Regions from separate parts of the Homo sapiens genome. Here region 1 is linked to region 2. The links are contacts of gene promoters, found by promoter capture Hi-C in human tissues and cell types (Jung and others, 2019). All regions are on one chromosome and are shown on one strand. The core of a region is centred on a gene start or on the middle of the fragment in contact, and the rest is flanking DNA. Distances in the headings are between cores, read along the strand shown. Region 1 has its middle 7.6 kb from the start of LINC01260. Region 2 holds the start of JPH2 (junctophilin 2).

Region 1 (7,113 bases), core at 1,639-4,138, 490 kb before region 2:
CTGTGTTGCTTGCTGCTGTTTTCCCAGTGCCCAGCACCGTACCTGGCATGTCGTTGGTCCTCAAAACATACTTGTTTAGCAGTCAAAGAAATGATTTGTGCAAAGTTTACAAATGAGGAAATTGAGGTTCAAAGAGGTTATGTGACTTGTTCAATATCACCTAGCTAGTGGGACGCAGGACCAGGATCATTGGACTTCAGGTCCTGAGGAAGGTCTTTCTACTCATGCCTGTCCCTCTGCCTCCTCACATTCCGACACCCTCTTTGTAAAGCTGTCTTATTTTACAGGCATCTGATCAGGCGGCCTGCAAGAAGAGTGCGCCCCCTTAGCCAGTATGGCCACGCTTCCTCCCTTAGGGGCTGCTGGGTGTGCCCCTCATCTTCTCAACCCCCTGGGGACCCCTGGAGGATCTGGAGCACACCCTCCAGCTGGGGGATTTGCCCAGCAGGTGAGGCCCCTTAGTCGCTGTAGCCCATTTGGAAGTTTGGCAGGTGGATTTCTAGTGCAAGGCCACCTCTGCCCTCTGAGCTCAGAGCCACCTATTTCTGCCCCACCCAGTCCTGCACACAGCTGGTAGCAGGTGCAGGGAGGAGGCAAAAGCCAGACTTTGCCCCTTTATCTTGCACCCCTTTTCCCATTCTCAGGCAGATGTGTGTCCAAAAGTGTTTGACCTGTGCTGTGTGCATATGGGAATATGCACATATATACATGCGTGTCCCCATGCACATACCTGTGGACATGGGCAGCCCTGTGTGTGAGCACACATGTGTGTCTGAGTGTGGCTTGTGCGATCCTCCATGTGCCCATGGGTGCAGACGTGAATCCGAGTGTGAACGTGAGCTTATATGTAGCTCTGCATGTGTGTGGGTAATGCTGAAGGATAGACCACCAAGCAGAAGGGCATCTCCTTGCCCCGCCTCAGTTTCCTCATCTGTAAAATGGGGACAACAATGGCACCTAACAGGTGGAACCGGCAAGGCACACAGTAAGTGTCATGATAGTAGCCCTTTTTATTAAGCTTCTCGGGGATGTGTGCGGATTCCACAAAATAAGAACGCAGAAAGGGACTGGCTCAAGAAATGTTTCTCCCATCATTCTTTCATCCTTAGGTCCAGAAGTATTTCTTCTGTTCTCTTGGTTTTATCACTGCAAAGGTAATATAACAACAGTGGAGGAAGTTTGAGAAGAAAACATGGGGAAGGGGAGATACCTGTCCCCCAAAACCCCACCACTCCCGACACAAGAAGGAATTTCATTTTTGCTTGTTCTTTTCCTGACTTTGTCCATGAGCCAGCATGGAGCTTGGCACACAGCGCCGAGCTCGAAAAAAATATTTGGATGTTTTAACAAATATATATTAGCTAAAATGACTACACTGAGTATTTTTCCATCCTGCATTTGTTCACACATCAGGGACATTTTCCATATGATAGCTGGTCTTTATAGTTATTATAATTATTATTATTATTTTGAGATGGAGTCTGACTCTCTCGCCTGGGCCGGAGTGCAGTGGCTCAATCTCGGCTCACTGCAACCTCCGCCTCCCAGGTTTAAGCGATTGTCCTGCCTAAGCCTTCTGAGTAGCTGGGATTACAGGCATGCACCACCATGACAGGGTAATTTTTGTATTTTTAATAGAGATGAGTTTTCACCATGTTGGCCAGGCTGGTCTTGAACTCCTGACCTCCAGTGATCTGCCCACCTTGGCTTCCCAAAGTGCTGAGATTACAGGCATGAGCCACCACGCCCAGCCCAGTATTTATAATTATTAAAGATAATAGGCCAGGCGCGGTGGCTCACGCCTGTAATCCCAGCACTTTGGGAGGCCGAGGTGGGCAGATCATGAGGTCAGGAGATGGAGGCCATCCTGGCCACATTTCACAATGTGGCCTAGTGTTTCCACATTGTGAAACCCCATCTCTACTAAAAATACAAAAATTAGCCGGGAGTGGTGGTATGTTCCTGTAGTCCCAGCTACTTGGGAGGCTGAGGGAGGAGAATCACTTGAACCCGGGAGGCAGAGGTTGCAGTGAGCTGAGATCATGCCACTGCACTCCAGCCTGTGACAAAGTAAGACTCTGTCTCAAAAAAAAAAAAAAATTAGGAACTACCTACTGCTATAGACGAGTCACTTGTATTAAGAAATGTTATGTCGCAGTAATGAACATCTTTTTCCATCTAGAATTTTTTTTCTTTCTTTGGAACAGGTTAGTGTTTCCACACTGGGAATAGGGTGTCCCAGAATTTATAAAGGGGATTCCACTGAAAAAAACCAGAAACATTAACCGTCAAGGCCATGCAAATCAAAGCCACAATGAGATCCCACTACACACCCCCACGAGGATGGCTACAATAAAAAAGACAAACAATAATAAGTGTTGGTAAGGAATCAGAGAAATCAGAACTCTCATACATTGCTGACAGGGATGAAAAAAGTGAACAAAGCCAGTCATAAAAGACCACAGGCCTGGACGCACTGGCTCATGCCTGTAATCCCAGCACTTTGGGAGGCCAGGGTGGGAGGATCACTTGAGCCCAGGAGTTCTAGACTAGCCTGGGCAACATAGGGAGAACCCATCTCTACAAACAATTTTTTAAAAATTTGCTGGGCATGGCGGTGCACTGTGGTCCCAGCTACTTGGGAGGCTGAGCAGGGAGGGTCATGTGAGCCCTGGAGTTCGAGGCTGCAGTGAGCTGTGATTGCACTGTTGCACTCCAGCCTGGGCAAGAGAAGGAGACCCTGTCTCAAAAGAAAAAAAAAAAGACCCCATGTTGCATGACTTCTTTTCTATGAAACATCTAGAAAGAGCAAATCCATAGAGACAGAAAGTAATTGGCAGTTACCTGGGGCCAGAGGGGGGTCGGCTGCAGGACTGACTGCTGATAGGTACAGGGTTTCTGTGGGGGATAATGAAAAAGTGCCAAAATTGATTGTGACAAATATATAAAAAACTATTGAATTGTACACTTTATCTGTTGTTGTTGTTTTTGAGACAGAGTCTTGCTCTGTTGCCCAGGCTAGAGTGTAGTGGCATGACCTTGGCTCACTGCAACCTCCATCTCCCGGGTTCAAGCGATCCTCCTGCCGCAGTCTCCCGAGTAGCTGGGATTACAGGCGCCCACCACCATGCCCAGCTAATTTGTGTATTTTTTGTAGAGATGGGGTTTCACCATGTTGGCCAGGCTGGTCTCGAACTCCTGACCTCAAGTGATCTGCCCGCCTCGGCCTCCCAAAGTGCCAGGATTACAGGCATGAGCCACCACACCCTGCCTGAATTGTACACTTTAAATGGGTGAATTGTATGGCATGTGAATTTTATCTCAATAAAGCTGTTATAATCAAGTATTTTTTTAAAAAGGATGGAGACCCAAGATGACAATAAAAATGCACGCCGTCATTTACTGGGAGCAGGGACTATCGCCAAGACTCATTAATCTCATGTATCTTTCACAATAACCCTATTGGCTTATTTTCCCCATTTTACAGATAAGGACGCTGAGATTCAGAATGACTAAGTAACTGGCCCAACGGCACTTAGTTTTTTAGCGGTAGAGGTGTGATTTGAACCCAAGCTCATGCTCAATTTGAAGTACTTTTGTTGCCTCTTTAGAAGGCACCAGGAGCTAACGCACCAGGCCGACAGCACAGACAGGGGCCCAGGATCGGGGCCTCCTCTCTCCCCTGCCATTATCTGGCCTGGGCAGCCACAGCTCACAATCAGGGCTCTCTATCTCTCCCTCAGGCCTTCTCCCTGCATCTCCCTGTGTATGGCCCCTCCAGTAGAAACCCAGTGGAGGCTGATCTGGCAAACAGATCTGACTCAGGCCTCTCCAAGGCAGCTCTCAATCCTGTCCACCAAGTAGCCTCCGAGACTTCCCAACTTTACCGCACAGAAATAATAATACGTGTGCACAAAGATGCACAGACAAAGATGTTCAACATAGCATTGTTTCTAAGAGGGAAAAACTAGAAAGAACCTAAATGTCTGACACTGGAGAACCAGTTATTCCACGACGTAATGCTCAGCCCTTAAAAATCCTATAGCAGAAGGATCCTTTCTGACATAGAAAAATGTTCACAGTATATCAAGTGAGAAAAGCAGAGCCCTCCTAGCCGCTGCCGCCTGCCCCCCAGGCCAACCCCTGTTTGCATCTACAATCCAGCCACATTAACCCCCTTCTGGTCCCCCAAATGCTCCAGGCTTTCTCTTCTCAGGCGTTTGCAGTTGCTTCTTCCTCTGCCTGGAATCCACTTCCCATCCCATCCCTTGTCGTTCTCTTTCAAGCTGGCTAACTCTGCTGCAGCCTTCAGGTCTCAGCTGAGCTCTCTCTTCCCCTGGGAAGGACCCTTGGGCCCTCAGGATGGGGCAGGGTCCCTCCTCTGTGCTCTCACGGCCCTGTGGGTCACCCATCATGGCCCCCATCACCCTCTCTGTGACTGGCCATTTAAATGTCTGCCGCCTGCATTTGACTCCAGAAGACAAGTCCAGACCTGTCTAACTGGCCTGACACTGCTTTCTTAGTGTCTTATCTCAGAGGAGGCCTCTTCCAGTGACTTCTGTGGCAACTGGAGCAAAAGCCAGACTGCTCTTCATGTTCTCCAAGGCCTTGCTTGGTCTGGCCAGTGCCACATGTTTTCCAACATGCCAAATGCATGCCTGCCTCAGGACCTATGCATTTGCTGTTTCTTCTGCCTGGAATAAATGAAAAATAAATAAATACTTTTTTTTTTTTTTTTTTTGGAGATGGAGTCCTTTCTGTTGTGCAGGCTGGAGAGTAGTGGCACGACCTTGGCTCACTGCAACCTCTGCCTCCCGGGTTCAAGTGATCCTCCCACCTCAGCCTCCCAAGTAGCTGGGACTACAGGCATGTGCCACCATGCTCAGCTAATTTTTTTTTGTATTTTTATTAGGGATGGGATTTTGCCATGTTGCCCAGGCTGGTCTCAAACTCCTGGCCTCAAGTGATCCGCCTGCCTCAGTCTCCCAAAGTGCTAAAATTACAGGCATGAGCCACAGTGCCCAGCCATAAATACAATAATTTTTTTTTTTTAAAGAAAATTTAGGCCGGGTGTGGTGGCTCACACCTGTAATCCCAGCACTTTGGGAGGCCAAGGCGGGTGGATCACGAGGTCAGGAGATCAAGACCATCCTGGCTAACATGGTGAAACCCCGTCTCTACTAAAAATACAAAAAATTAGCCAGGCATGGTGTCAGGCGCCTATAGTCCCAGCTACTTGGGAGGCTGAAGCAGGAGAATGGCGTGAACCCAGGAGGTGGAGCTTGCAGTGAGCCGAGATCGTGCCACTGCACTCCAGCCTGGGCGACAGAGTGAGCATCTCAAAAAAGAAAAAAGAAAATTTAGTGCTTTGTTGATTTAAATAAAATTATCCTTGGTATTTTAGTGAGGAAATACTTCAAAGCATGACTTTACCTATCTCAAAAGCAGATATTGTTATGTGCTATTAGGATATCTGGACACCCTGCCACCATAGGAGTTTGCCCTTGCAGGCATTACTAAATCGCTTCCTTCACCCAAAACATATCATGGCCATGAGTTGTGACTGCCAAGGAATGTGCCTTGCTAGTTTGAAGATGCAGTTGATTTTATTATTTTATTATTTTATTTTATTTTTTGAGACAGAGTGTCACACTGTCACCCAAGCTGGAGTGCAGTGACACGATCTCAGCTCACTGCAAACTCTGCCTCCCGGGCTCAAGCAATTCTCCTGCCTCAGCCTCTCAAGTAGCTGGGATTACAGGTGCCCACCATCATGCCCAACTAATTGTTGTACTTTTAATAGAGATGGGGTTTCTCCATGTTGGCCAGGCTGGCTTTGAACTCCTGACCTCAGGTGATCCGCCCACCTCAGCCTCCCAAAGTGCTGGGATTACAGGCATGAGCCACTGTGCCCAGCCACAATTGATTTTAAAATGGTGTCACCCTGACTCTGTTATGCTCCTGTTTCCCTAACAGTGTCACCATGGACCCAGCCTCTTGCCATCTTTGCACTCTGCCAATGTCAGTGTGTTGGCAAAGTGAGTTTAAAATTGTAGTCATTCATCTAGCCAAAGTGATGATTCAAATATTTCAAAAAGCAAACTTTTACTCTTTCATAGAGAGGAGACTGAATTTTCCAAACAATCAAAATGTCACGTGCGTCTGTGTGAAGAGACCACCAAACAGGCTTTGTGTGAGCAACAAAGCTGTTTATTTCACCTGGGTGCAGGCGGGCTGAGTCCGAAAAGAGAGTCAGCAAAGGGTGGTGGGTTTATTATTAGTTCTTATAGGTTTTGGGATAGGCGGTGGAGTTAGGAGCAATGTTTTGCAGGCAGGGGTTGGATCTCACAAAGTACATTCTCAAGGGTGGGGAGAATTACAAAGAACCTTCTTAAGGGTCGGGGGGGGGGTTACAAAGAACCTTCTTAAGGGTGGGGGAGATTATAAAATACATTGATCAGTTAGGGTGGGGCAGAAACAAATCACAATGGTGGAAAGTCATCAGTTAAGGCTATTTTCACTTCTTTTGTGGATCTTCAGTTGCTTCAGGCCATCTGGATGTATACAGGCAGGTCACAGGGGATATGATGGCTTAGCTTGGGCTCAGAGGCCTGACATTCCTGTCTTCTTATATTAATAAGAAAAGCAAAACAAAATAGTGGTGAAGTGTTGGAGTGGCGAAAAATTTTGGGGCTGGTATGGAGAGATAATGGGCAATGTTTCTCAGGGCTGCTTCGAGTGGGATTGGGGCAGCATGGGAACCTACAGTGGGAGAGATTCAACTGAAGAAAGATTTTGGGGTAAGGGGTGGTATTGTGGGGTTGTTAGAAGGAGCATTTGTCATACAGAATTATTGGTGATGGCCTGGATGCGGTTTTGTGTGAATTGAGAAACTAAATGAAAGACACAAGGTCTGAATAAAAGGAGAGAAATAGGTATTAAAGGACTAAGAAGTGGGAGGACCCAGGACATCCAATTAGAGAGTGCCCAAGGCTGTTCAGCGTAATTACTTGCTTGGTTGTTGAGTTTTTGGGCTGTATCCTTGACAGAGTCCTCCTTTTTAAGTTGGAGGCTGAGCTTGGTGAGGTGTGTCTTGAAAAGACCATTAGTCCG
Region 2 (7,351 bases), core at 3,859-6,358:
GAAGGGGGTCATCAGCTGCTAGATGCTGGGAAGACCAGGAGCAGCCACTATGTGCAGGCACTGGGTAGACACAGGTGAGCTGCAATATCTACTGTACAGCAGGTGCTCAGGTTTTTTAATAATTTAAGTTCTGAGGTACATGTTCAGGGCATGCAGGTTTGTTACATAGGTAAGCACGTGCCGTGGTGGTTTGCTGCACCTGTCAGCCCATCACCTAGGTATTAAGCCTGTTAAGCCCCATATGCATTAGCGATTTATCCTGGTGCTCTCTCTCTTCCTGTTCCCCCACCCTACCCACAGGCCCCATTGTTCCCCTGTCTGTGTCCATGTGTTTCCATTGTTCCGCTCCCACTTATAAGTGAGAACGTGTTTGGTTTTCTGTTCCTGTGTTAGTTTGCTGAGAATAATGGCTTCCAGCTCCATCCGTGCCCCTGCAAAGGACATGATCTCATTCCTTTTTATGGCTGCGTAGTATTCCATGGTATATATGTACCACATTTTCTTTACCCAGTCTATCATTGATGGACATTTGGGTTGATTCACTGATCATTAGAGAAATGCAAATCAAAACCAGAATGAGAAACCACCTCATACCGGTCAAAATGGCAATTATTAAAAAGTCAAGAAACAAAAGATGCTGGTAAGGCTGTGGAGAAATAGGGATGCTTTTATACTTTTGGTGGGAATGTAAGTTACTTCAACCCTTGTGGAAGATATTATGGCGATTCCTCAAAGACCTAGAACCAGAAATACCATTTGACCCAGCAGTCGCATTACTGATTTATATTCCTTTGGGAATGGGTTTGGTGGCTTGGGCACTTGGCAGTGCCCAAGGAATATATATTTATATTCCTTTGGGAATATAAATCATTCTATTATAAAGATACATGCACACCTATGTTCACTGCAGCACTATCCACTGTTTTTTGGAAAGAAGAAAATCCTTGCTTTAAACAACTCATAGTTTGGGGGAGGAGACAGCATGTGGGAAGGGCACTAGCTCAGCCAGGACACCTGCCTGGAAAGGCTTCCTGGACGGTGAGGCTCGCTCTGCTGAGCCTTCCATGGCTAAGAAGAACTCCAGTGGATTTCTGGGTGCAGTCCTTCTCCTTGTTCCGGATTTCCAGTTCTCTCCCTTTGAGGTTCCCAGAGAAGCAGTCAAGCTTGAGAAGTTGAGCAGGAAATAGAGGGAGAAAGTGACCAGGGAACAGAACTAGGGAGTGGGAAGAGATCTGAGATGAAGAGAGGGAATAGGCTAGCTACCGTTAAAACCAGTTTATAATTATTTCAAGTTTATTTTATTTTTTATTTTTATTTATTTATTTTTGAGATGGAGTCTCACTCTCGCCCAGGCTGGAGTGCAGTGGCACAATCTCGGCTCACTGCAACCTCTGCCTCCTGGGTTCAAGTGATTCTCCTGCCTCAGCGCCCCCAGTAGCTGGGATTACAGGCAGGTGCCACCACACCCGTCTAATTTTTGTATTTTTAGTAGAGACAGGGTTTCGCCATGTTGGCCAGGCTGGTCTCGAACCCCTGACCTCAGATAGTCCGCCTACCTTGGCCTCTCAAAGTGCTAGGATTACAGGCGTGAGCCACCGTGCCCGGCCTATTTATTTTTAAATTATTATTTATTTATTTATTTATTTATTTTTTTGAGAGAGGATCTTGCTCCATCACTCAGGCTGGAGTGCAGTGGTGTGATCATGGCTCCCTGCAGCCTCGATCTCCCAGCCTTAAGCGATCCTCCTGCCTCAGCCTTCTGAGTAGCTGGGACCACAGGCATGCACCACCATGCCCGGCTAATATTTCAAGTTTAGTAAATTCCACTGGATTTGAAGAACTTGGTTTTTCTGAGGAAAGTCCGTTGTAATGCACATAACGCCACAAGAGGTCTCCCTTTCCCTGAAATGCACTGGTTTAAAAGGCGGGACAAATGGTAGCTTGTCAGAAAGCTCTGGGCAGGTAAGGCCAGTACCAAATTTGGCAAAGAATCTTACTTAAACTTTTACAAAGTCAAAGTATCCCTTTACCAGTAACTTCGTTTTGCAGTTTAAAACATGAGAATAAGGAGTGCTTCGATGTCAAGATATTTAATATTTAGGAGGGGTTCTCTCTTCCCTCTTTGAGGACTATTTTATTAAGCCTGAAAAGTAATTTAGTATGTAAGAGTAACTCTCATAAGAGCTAACACTGATTATATGTGTAATGTGTTCTGAGCCTTTTTACAGTATTAACTGTGTAATCCTCACCCAGTTAGATAAGGTAGATACTGTTATTCTTGATACCAATAATCCTCTGAGGTAGGGACTTTTACAGATGAATAATTTGCAGTTTAGAGAAATTAACAATTGGTCCAAGGTCACACAGCTTGTGAGGGGCAGGACTGGGATTTGAAGACATATCTAACTCCAAAACTACTGGATTCATGAATAAATGGATTCATGAATTTTTATGTTATTAAACAGTATCTTAATTTGAAATTTTACCTTGGTTTTGTTGTTGTTGTTGTTTTCTATCTATTTATTTATTTTTTGAAACAGGGTTGCCAGGCTGGAGTGCAGTGGCACAAATATGGCTCATTGCAGCCTCCAACTCCTTGACTCAGCGATCCTCCTTGCCTCAACTTCCCATGTAGCTGGGACCACAGATGTGTATCACCACACCTGGCTAATTAAAAAAAAAAATTTTTAATTGTAGAGGCGGGGTCTCACTGTGTTGTCCAGGCTGGTCTCAAACACCTGGGCTCAAGCAATCCTCCAGCCTTGGCCTCCCAAAGTGCTGGGATTACAGGTGTGAGCCACTATAACAAGCACTTACAGTGTTTTTAACCAGAGATGAAAATCAGATTCATCTGAGGAGCTTTTAAAAGAATTCGACTGCCCAAGTCTTCTCCCAGGACAATCTAATTCTGTAGGTCTCGGGTGGGGCTCTCGGATCTCTTTATGTTTTTAAGTCTGTAAGTGATTCTTATGTGTAGTAACCCTGGGTAGACAGCTACCCTAGGGAGCTGCTATGGATGAACAGTGGTTAAATTCCCATAGGTAGAACACCCTGCTAAGATGTAGCAATGGCTGCCTGGCATAAACATATGATTACGGTATTGAATCTGCAGCTCAAACTCCCCTAGCTTCCAGTTTGAGATGCTCTTCCCTTGACAGCAGAGCTAGAAAGAAGTTTGTGATTCTCCAAAGACCTAGTGAGAAGTGGCGAAAGCAGAACTCCCTGGGAGTAGCCCTGAGATGTTCTTAGAAGTGAATTGTGCAAGCAGGCTGTCAGTCAGCCTGGCCAGGGCTCACACCTAACCACCCAGAGGAAACAGTTTTTATCCACTACGTGCTCCCTGTCAGCTTGGCAAACAGACGGTGACAGTGAGCCCAAGAGGCTGGGTGCCTCTACCTGGTGGTGAAACGCAGATATAGAAGGGGCTCTTGAAGGTCAGCGGCTGTGACCAAGGATGGAACCAAGTCCTAAGAACAGGTAACCCACTGGAAGGAAAGCAGGGAACACTTTTTACCCACTCCCCAAACAGGAACAAGACTTCCGCAGTGACTTCACGTGGCCTAAGTTATCATGGGGTTTGGAAATATGTCAGATAAGTTCAAAGTCAGATAATTGTCTAATGTTCTCTAGTACCTTCTGTGCTTAGTTCTCTCTTTCTCTTCTGTCCCCATCTTCACACACACACTCACACACACACACTCACACATGGAAACACACACACTCTTACCACACACACATACAAACACACACACTCTTACCACACACACTCACACAAACACACACTTACCACACACACACAAACACACACACTCTTACCACACACACTCACATACACTCACACACACTCTCTCACACTCTCACAGACACACGTTCACACACACGCACAGACACACACACACACAGATCTTCCTAGTCTTGGTGGCTCTTACCTTTCCCAGAATTCCTCTATACTCCCATTAACCTTGGGCTTAGCTGGGATTTACAATCATTAGCTCTGGCCACAGCTTCTTGCCATGGAGATTTATTTGTTCTTTTTACTGGAGTTTGGTGGGAACCTGAGTGGCTGGGAATCCACCCAGGCCCTTCTCTCCTGGCCCTGCCCCAAGAGCTTTCTGAAGTCTGGCCTCACAGGCTCCTAGGACACTAGAGCAAAAGACAGCTCAGAAAGGGAAATTTTAAAAAATCATGACCCTTGAGAATTTCTGAGAGGACCTCATTACAACACAACCCTGTGTTGACAGGAAGGGGACTCCTTTGACCTTCAGGGTCTGCTGGGTCTGCGGCAGGGGGCAGGGAGGGCGCCGAGGCATCAAGGGGTGGGGAGAGGAAGCTAGCGGGACGCCCAGTCTGTGTCTCAGGCAGAGAGGAGGGCAGGCTCCTCTCCCTTCTCTTTGCCCTTCAGGAGAAAGAGAAAGGGAATAGATGGTTGCTTCTTGCACCAAGTTCTCCCCGGCTTCCAGGGGTGGAGGGAGCTCAGGGTGGTGAGTGAGCACTGGACTGAGATTCTGTGTATCTTCCAGACCCTGTTTCCACAGCCTCCCCTCTCTTTCTGACTTCCCTCCTCTGCTTTCGGAAGCACATGTGAAACTGTCTCCATTCCTTTCTCTTTAGGTCACTGGATTCCTTGATGGGGCTGGCAGTGGTGCTGTAACCCCAGGTCCCCTTAGGGCATGTGAGTGGTGATGGGGCTGAGATCTGCCAACCTCCTCGCTCTGGGGGATTTTCAGTGTTCCAGGACTGGGTGTTCTGCTGGTCTCCCTCTCCCCTCCCTTCCCCGATTCCCCGGTGCCCTCCCTGCGCGCAGACCCAGGGGACTCTGAGAATGGAAGGGAGCTCTCATTCCCGGGAGGAAAAGACACCAGGTTCCCTGGGCTGCCTGCACTCAGTTCTCAGCCTCCTTCCTCATGCCTCCAGCCACTGCCCGGGTCTGCGGCACGGGCGCGATTTGAAATACCCCTCCTTCCCGCTTTGAAGAAGGCTGGGCTGGCTGGGGGTTATTTTGGGAGCAGCTTCTGAGATCCAATGGCCTTGTTAGGGCAACACTGACCTTTCCGTCCCAGAAGGAGGGCAGGATTGGAGAAGGGGGCGGGGCAGCGGCGGGGAGACCGACAGCCCCGCACACCCACTGGGGTGGAGAAGGGGGCCAGCGGGCTGCGGGAATTCAGCCTCCGGCGGGGGCTGCCACCGAGGGGAATTTCCCCTCTTTGAAAAGGCTGGGGACCCCTCCACCCCACCCTTTCACTGGGCTTCTTAAAGAGATCACACCGTTTTCCCTTGGACTTCTTGGAAGGCAGACTTGGGACGCTTTGTGGGGACTTTGAACCTTTCCTTCCTGCTTTCTTTCCAGCAGGCAGCCTTGCTCTGGCTGGTGGAGTCGGGGCTCCCGGGCATGGCACTGACTAGCCGACCCGGTGCTGACTTGGCGCCGGGGCTCTTTCAGCCTCTGCTGGCATCCTGCTTCCCCCCTCCTGGGGTGCAGTGGTGAGTCTGGGGGCCTGCCCCCGAGGGCACTGGAGGAGTGTTGCAGGCATCACCCACGCCCTCTGCACCCACGCTGGAGGACGGGGAGGTTGTCAGGGGCTATGATGAGATGAGTGGGGGCCGCTTCGACTTTGATGATGGAGGGGCGTACTGCGGGGGCTGGGAGGGGGGAAAGGCCCATGGGCATGGACTGTGCACAGGCCCCAAGGGCCAGGGCGAATACTCTGGCTCCTGGAACTTTGGCTTTGAGGTGGCAGGTGTCTACACCTGGCCCAGCGGAAACACCTTTGAGGGATACTGGAGCCAGGGCAAACGGCATGGGCTGGGCATAGAGACCAAGGGGCGCTGGCTCTACAAGGGCGAGTGGACACATGGCTTCAAGGGACGCTACGGAATCCGGCAGAGCTCAAGCAGCGGTGCCAAGTATGAGGGCACCTGGAACAATGGCCTGCAAGACGGCTATGGCACCGAGACCTATGCTGATGGAGGTGAGGCCAGCTGGGGGCCCGCAGAGGTGGGGTGGAGCCAGGGAGGGTGAGAAACCCTGGTGGAGGGTGGGAAAGGCGACCGGCAATTGGCACAGAATCAGATGGGCTAGGAAGTGATTTGCTGTGTGGTTTTGGGCAAGCTGCTCTACCTTTCTGAGCTTCCATTTTCTTGTAGTAAAGATGGAGCTAATAAAGGGGTTATTGAGAGGATTAGTGGCAGTGCTTAGTACAAAGCCTGCCATGTAAGTGCACACTCAACACACAATAAAATATAACTACTACCATTAGCATGTTCGGTATGCCCCAACATAAACAGCCATGGAATATACTCTAGCAGAATTAGGGTCTAGTCTTAACTTTGCCATGAAAATTATTTTCAAGCAATAGATCATGAGGAGTATTCATCCACCCACCCATCCATCCATCCACCCATCCAACTATCCACTCATCATCTATCCACACACCAATCCACCCACCCGTCCATCCATCCATTCATCCATCCACCCACCTGCCTGCCCATCCATCCATCTACCCACCCACGCATTCATGCTTCCACCCAACCATTCATCTACCCATCCAGCCATTCATACATCTACCTGCCCATCCACCCATCCATCTTTCCATCCATCCATCCATCCATCCATCCATCCATCCATCTATGATCCATCCATGGATTCTTTTTTTTTTTTTCCAAGACAAGTTCTCGTTCTGTTGCCCAGGCTGGAGTGTTGTGGCATGATCTCGGCTCTTTGCAGCCTTGATCTCCCAGGATCAAGTGGTCCACCAACCTCAGCTTCCCTAGTAATTGGGACTACAGGTGTGCACCACCATGCCTGGCTAATTTTTGTATTATTATTTTTTTTTTTGTAGAGACAGGGCTTTTCCATATTGCCCAGACTGGTCTCAAACTTCGGAGCTCAAGCAATCTGCCTGTCTCGGCCTCCCAAATTGCTGGGATTACAGGTGTGGGACACTGTGCCGGGCCTACATTCCTTTTGTGTTTCCTTTTTTAAATTTTTTAAAGATAGGTCTTGCTTTGTTGCTCAGGCTGAAGTGCGGTGGCACAATCACAGCTCACTGCAACCTTGAACTCCTGGGCTCAAGCAATCCTCCCATCTTGGCCTCCTGAGTAGCTGGAACTACAAGGCACATGCCACCAAGCCTAGCTAATTAATTGTTTTTTCTTTTTTTGTAGAGATGGGGTCTTACTATGTGGCCCAGGCTGGTCTCAAACTCCTGGGCTCAAGCAATTCTTGGACTCCGTGGCTCACGCCTGTAATCTCAGCACTTTGGGAAGCTGTGGTGGGAGGATCACTTGAGGCCAGGAGTTCAACACCAGCCTGGGCAATCTAGCAAGATCCCCATTTTTACAAAACGAAAAA

What was found. Contacts are between HindIII fragments. The study calls those that stand out against the background at their distance.
Region 1: a contact is called between a fragment that was not itself captured here and the fragment with the promoter of JPH2 in region 2, in 1 of the 25 tissues and cell types used here (thymus).

Annotation. Positions count from the first base shown.
Region 1 is chr20:44,675,812-44,682,924 of GRCh38, reverse strand. No RefSeq gene overlaps it. Among named protein-coding and RNA genes, the nearest start is that of LINC01260, 7.6 kb to the right of the region's middle. RefSeq lists enhancers at 3,957-4,457, 4,458-4,958. The HindIII fragment of the contact is 5,149 bases long and covers 314-5,462 here.
Region 2 is chr20:44,184,945-44,192,295 of GRCh38, reverse strand. It overlaps JPH2 (junctophilin 2), which reads left to right and starts at 5,108. Exons shown (of 6, transcript NM_020433.5): 1 at 5,108-5,969. The coding sequence starts at 5,591. The HindIII fragment of the contact is 16,539 bases long and covers 1-7,351 here.